Regions from separate parts of the Homo sapiens genome. Here region 1 is linked to region 2. The links are contacts of gene promoters, found by promoter capture Hi-C in blood cells and fetal thymus (Javierre and others, 2016). All regions are on one chromosome and are shown on one strand. The core of a region is centred on a gene start or on the middle of the fragment in contact, and the rest is flanking DNA. Distances in the headings are between cores, read along the strand shown.

The links. Contacts are between HindIII fragments. The CHiCAGO score rates a contact against its expected background, and 5 or more counts as called.
Region 1: a contact is called between a fragment that was not itself captured here and the fragment with the promoter of KCNQ1OT1 in region 2, in 3 of 17 cell types (M1 macrophages, M2 macrophages and erythroblasts). The highest score is 6.1, in M1 macrophages.

Annotation. Positions count from the first base shown.
Region 1 is chr11:2,872,684-2,875,383 of GRCh38, forward strand. No RefSeq gene overlaps it. Among named protein-coding and RNA genes, the nearest start is that of KCNQ1DN, 4.0 kb to the left of the region's middle. The HindIII fragment of the contact is 1,104 bases long and covers 776-1,879 here.
Region 2 is chr11:2,698,522-2,701,297 of GRCh38, forward strand. It overlaps KCNQ1OT1 (KCNQ1 opposite strand/antisense transcript 1), which reads right to left and starts at 1,473. Exons shown (of 1, transcript NR_002728.4): 1 at 1-1,473. All of the region lies in intron 11 of KCNQ1 (potassium voltage-gated channel subfamily Q member 1), which reads left to right. RefSeq lists silencers at 1,607-1,876, 1,887-1,956 and an enhancer at 1,674-2,776. The HindIII fragment of the contact is 24,274 bases long and covers 1-2,776 here.

The sequences.
Region 1 (2,700 bases), core at 78-2,577, 170 kb after region 2:
GGACCAGGACCTAGGCCATGTCTGTCCTGGCTGCAGAGGTGGGTCAGCCCCATACAGTGCTCTCTGGAAGAGAAACAGGGAGCAGCGTGGCTCCTGCACAGAGGCACCTGGCTGGCCCTTGGCCTACTGGTAGCCTCCAAGGGTAGATGCCAGGTATCTCAGTCCATTTGTGCCACAGTAACAAAATACCTGAGACTGGGTGATTTATTTTCTATTTTTTATTTATTTATTTATTTATTTATTTTTGAGATGGGGTTTTGCTCTTGCTGCCCAGATTGGAGTGTGATGGCACGATCTTGGCTCACTGCAACCTCTGCCTCCCAGGTTCAAGCGATTCTCCTGCCTCAGCCTCCTGACTAGCTGGGATTACAGGCATGTGCCACCACACCCGGCTAATTTTGTATTTTTAGTAGAGATGAGGTTTCTCCATGTTTGTCAGGCTGGTCTCGAACTCCTGACCTCAGGTAATCCACCCACCTTGGCTTCCCAAAGTGCTGGGATTACAGGTGTGAGCCACTGCGCCTGGCTAATTTTCTAGGTTTAGTAGAGATGGGGTTTCTCCATGTTGGTCAGGCTGGTCTTGAACTCCTGACCTCAGGTGATCCACGAGACTGGGTGATTTATAAATAACAGAAATGTATTTCTCACCGTTCTGGAGGCTGGGAAGTCCAAGATCAAGGTGCCAGTGCAATCAGGGTCTGGTGAGGGCTCTCTGCTTCCAAGATGGCACTGTGTTGTAAGTGAAGCGAACGCTTTGGGAAGCCTCTTTTATAAAAGCTTTAATCTCACTCAGAGGGAGGAACCCTCAGGCTTAAATACCTCCTAAAGGCCCTATTTCTTTCTCTCTTCTTTTTTTTTTTTTTTTTTTTTTTGTGAGACACAGTCTTGCTCTGTTGCCCAGGCTGGAATACAGTCGTACCATCTCAGCTCACTGCAACCTCCACCTCCTGGGTTCAAGCAGTTCTCCCTGCCTCAGACTTCCAAGTACCTAGGTAACAGGTGCCCACCACCATGCCCAGTTAATTTTTGTATTTTTAGTAGAGATGGGGTTTCACCATGTTGGCCAGGCTGGTCTCAAACTCCTGACGTCAGGTGATCTGCCCACTTCGACCTCCCAAAGTGCTAGGATTACAGGCGTGAGCCACTGTGCCTGGCCCTTTTTTTTTTTTTTTTTTTTTTTTTTTGACAGGATCTGGCTCTCTGGCTCTGTCAACCAGGCTGTGGTACAGTGGCACGGTCATGGCTCACTGCAACCTCCACCTCCCAGGCTTGAGTGATCCTCCCATCTCAGCCTCCTGACTAGCACGCATCACCACACCTGGCTAATATTTCTTTTTTTGTAGAGAAAAGTTCTCCCTACATTGCCCAGGCTGGTCTGAAAATCCTGGGCTCAAGCAATCCACTCACCTCAGCCTCCCAAAGTGCTGAGATCACAGGCTTGAGCTACTGCGCCCAGCTTCCCACTTACATTAATACTATCACATTGGCCAGTAAGTTTCAGACACGAATTCTGGAGGGGACATAGTCAAACCCAGCACCAGGTCTCAGGTGTCCTTACTTCTCCCTCTGCAATTCCGGCTTCACCACAGCCCTCAGGTGTAAGGCCTTGTTGTCCAGACCATGTGCTTTTTCCCAGGACTGAGAGTGAAGTGCTGAGGTTGCATGATAAAAACCCATGTGACTATATGACCATTAAAGTGAATAGCCCCCAGAGCACTGGGCGGTGGGGACCGGGGCTCCCTCCTACACAGACAGACCAATTAAGGTCTTCCAGGCCTGCATGTAGGCCAGGCTACAGGGATGGAATCAGCACCCAGCTAGAGCAGAAGGGTCTAAAGGAACCAAAAGGGGTTCTGGGACAAATCTCAAACCATGGGCAAGCTTCGCTCAAGCACTCAAGGAACATTCGAGCTAGATGGGCCCTCAGAGACTCTGATCCTATGTTCTCCTTTCAGTGAGGGAAAATTGAGGCCCAGGGAGGCTTCTGCACCCTAGACAGGCCCCACTCCTTAGAGGGACCAGTGAGGGGAAGTCAGACCCCAGCAAGACGGAGGAAGTCCCAAATTGGAGACAATCAGAAAGACAACACCAGTGCAGACCCTAAACCAACACCCCACCTGCTCCAAGCTGGGCTCCAGTCGCCTAAGGATGAGCTGGGCCCATGCAAACTCCCTGTGTGTTTCCTGCATGTGGGCCACCAGGCAACCACCCTCTAACTTGAACCCCTGCCCACAGACCCCAGTACCACCCAATGGTTGGCCAGGGGCACCCCCAAAGGATTGGATCATGCCGAAGGTAGCCACAGGCAGATGACAGTGTCAAAGGGAAGGGGGATAAGTGGTTTTTGTTCACGCAGACCATAGGAGTGAAGGTTGTAGCATTCCCAAATGTAAGTCCGCGTGGCTAAGACCACGGGCAGGGCTCCCCAGCTGGCCTGGCTCCCAGTGTCTGTGCATTATCGTGTGCGTGTGAGGCATTTCCACTTGGATTACTATTTCAGCTCCCAAAAATGGATCAGTGGCTCACAGGAGGATCCAGGAAGCAGCAAATATTGACCCGTCAGGATTTCAAGGTGAACGTGGGATGTCCCCTACATGCAGGGACCGTCCACCAAGTGTGACACTGGACACAGGATGTCCTGGATTTGTCCCAGGTGCATGGTCTCTTAAGACACTTGGCCAGATGGTGGCGTGAGGCCAG
Region 2 (2,776 bases), core at 223-2,722:
ACCCCCAACTCAGACTGCAACCTTTACTTCGCCCCCTAATTCCTGACTCAGAATCCCCACCTAGAGGCAGAACTTCGACTTCAATTCCTGACTCCCATACCCCACTGAGACCTCTAACCCCAATCCCAATCTCTTAACTCAGAGCCCCCCATTCAGAACCTCTACCCAAAGACAGACTCCAGACCCTGACTCCAGTCGCCAACTCGGACCTCCCTTGGATCTCAACTCAGAGCCATGATGCAGACTCCAGACCGGGATTCAGGTCCCCAACTCAGACTCCCGATCCTCTGTCCCTAATGAGGCCCTACCTAAAACCACCATGCGGACTCCAGACCCGGACTGACTGGGACCCCAACTACTCAGATCCCAACTCAGGCAAACTCCCAGCCAGGATGTGGACCCTAGACCCGAATTCTGATCCCAACTAGGATACCTAACTCAGAACCACAACGGGGATTCCCACCTCCGATCCTAATTCGGGCCCTGACTCAGAACCACTAAGTGGATTTCCGACTCCGGTCCCAATTCGGGCTTTGACTCAAAACCACAACATGGATTCCCAACTTCCATCCCAATAGCGCGGACTCAGAACCACGATGCGGATTCCAGACTCCAATCCCAATTCAGCCCACTCTGAACCACCATGAGAACTATAGACCCGGAATCCGATCCTTGGGACGCGGCCAGGAACTCGGACCTCGACCCTGGCCACGCTGTCCATAAGGTGCAGATGGGAGCGCACTGCCCAGGCCAGGCTGCACTGCTGACGCCTGTGATCTGGGACGGCCGCGGGGCACACAGCTCACCTCAGCAACGCCAGTGATCACCCGTCCCGCGCCGTCCGCCCAGGTCCGTGCTGACCGTGTTCAAACCCTCCCAGAGAGATGGGGAGGGCCGCGCTGAGGAGAGTCTGGGAGAACCGCACTGAGGAGCCGCCGGGAGAGTGCCGCGCTGAGGAGCCCCCGGGGAGAGTGCCGCGCTGAGGAGCCCCCAGGAGAGTGCCGCGCTGAGGAGGCCCAGGGAGGACCGCGCGGAGGAGAACCATGCTGAGGAGCCCCCGGGGAGAACAGAACCGCGGCGAGAGGCCCCCGGAGAGAACCGCGCCGAAGAACCCCCGGGGACAACCGCGCCGAAGAACCCCCGGGGAGAACCGCGCCGAAAAGCCCCGGGTGCCCCGAGGAGAACGGCGCCGAGGAGTCCCCGGGGAGAACTGCGCCGAGGAGCCCCCAGAAGAGCGCCGCGCTGAGGAGCCCCGAGGAGAACCGCGCCGAGGGGCGCGCCGGGGAGAACCACGATGACTGACGCACCGAGGAGGACCGCGCTGAGGGGCGCACCGGGAGAATCGTGCTGAGGAGCCCCGGGGAGGACCACGCTGAGAGGCACCCCGGCAGAATCGCGCTGAGGGGCGCCCTGGCAGGATCTTGCTGAGGAGCTCCCTGGAGGTCCGTGCTGAGGCGACGCGGCGACCGTTCTGCCTGGAGACTGCGGCAGCGCTCCGACTGCCCCCGCCGCTGCCGACGTGGCGACCGCCCCCCACCTGCTGATTGGGCGGCAGCAGGGGAAGGCTTGCGGCGGGCTGCTGCACGGATTGGCTGGGTGCGGAAAGTGATGTGCCGTGTCCTGTCATTGGCCGAAAGAGTCTCGTTTTGATGCCACCCGGGCTCAGATTGGCCCAGCGGGTCCAGCGCCGCATGAGGCACTGGCTGGGTGTGAGGTGGCGCGAGCCGCCGCCCTCCCTGCCCCCACCCGTCGTCCCTGAGCACCACCGGGGGCCGGGGCCAGCGCCAGCCTCAGCGTTGGCATCGCCGGGGTGAGCTGGAGACACGGGCCAGTTCTCTGCGTGATGTGTTCACCACCCCGGGGTGACCGCGTGAGGACAGCGGCCGCACCCCGACACTGCTGTGGGCCCTCGGTGTGGAGGCCTGTGGGCGTCCAGGCCACGCCCGAGACCAGCCCCTCCGCCGGCGCCGCTGCAGCGACCCTCGAACCCGGGCAAGGTCTCCACCGCCGTGGCACCGGGTGCGGGAGGCGTTTTCCCCCCTCCCAGCGGGTCCATGCAGGGGATCGGGATGTTCTGAAGCCCCCACTGCTGTGCCTGGAACACCCGTGTCTGCCGCTCACCCCTGAGGACTTGGGACCTCAGGGGGTGAGTGGCAGGGGTGGCCGGGACATGCCAGGCCACCCACCTGGCAAAGGGCAGCGCCGAGGGCGCCCCGCGCCTGCCAGCGCCCGGCCGGGCCCGCCCTGCCCACCTCCCATCCCCCATCCGGGCGTGACACTTGACCGCGTCTGCCGGCCCCTCCCCTTGTCCGTCCCCTCCGCGCCGCTGGCGCGCGCCTTCTGAATGCCAAGCATTGCCATAAACTCCGGGGACAAAAGCCTGGGTCACAAAAGCCCCCTCTAGAAGTTCACACCCTGAGGCTTCCCTGGCAAGGCTGGGGGCCGTTTGGCCCTTCCATGTGGACTGCAAAAACAGTGTTGGAATGCAGGACTCTGGGTATGTTCTCGAAAGTTGTTACAACCCCAACCCAGGGTTGACCTCAAACACAGGAGGAAGGGGGAGGCTGGAGCCAGCCAAGCGAGCCAGCCGTCCCCCCACCAAGGCACGCAAGGAGGCCATTCATCTTCACTGCCTCTGCCGAAAATATACGTCTACGGGAGAGCCAGGAATCTCTCTCCAAGGGTGACCGGGTTGGGGGTTTTGTTGTTCTTCAGCCCAGAAGAGAAAGAGAAAATGGTGTCATTTTTTCAGGCAGCAAGTGATTCCTTTCAGGCC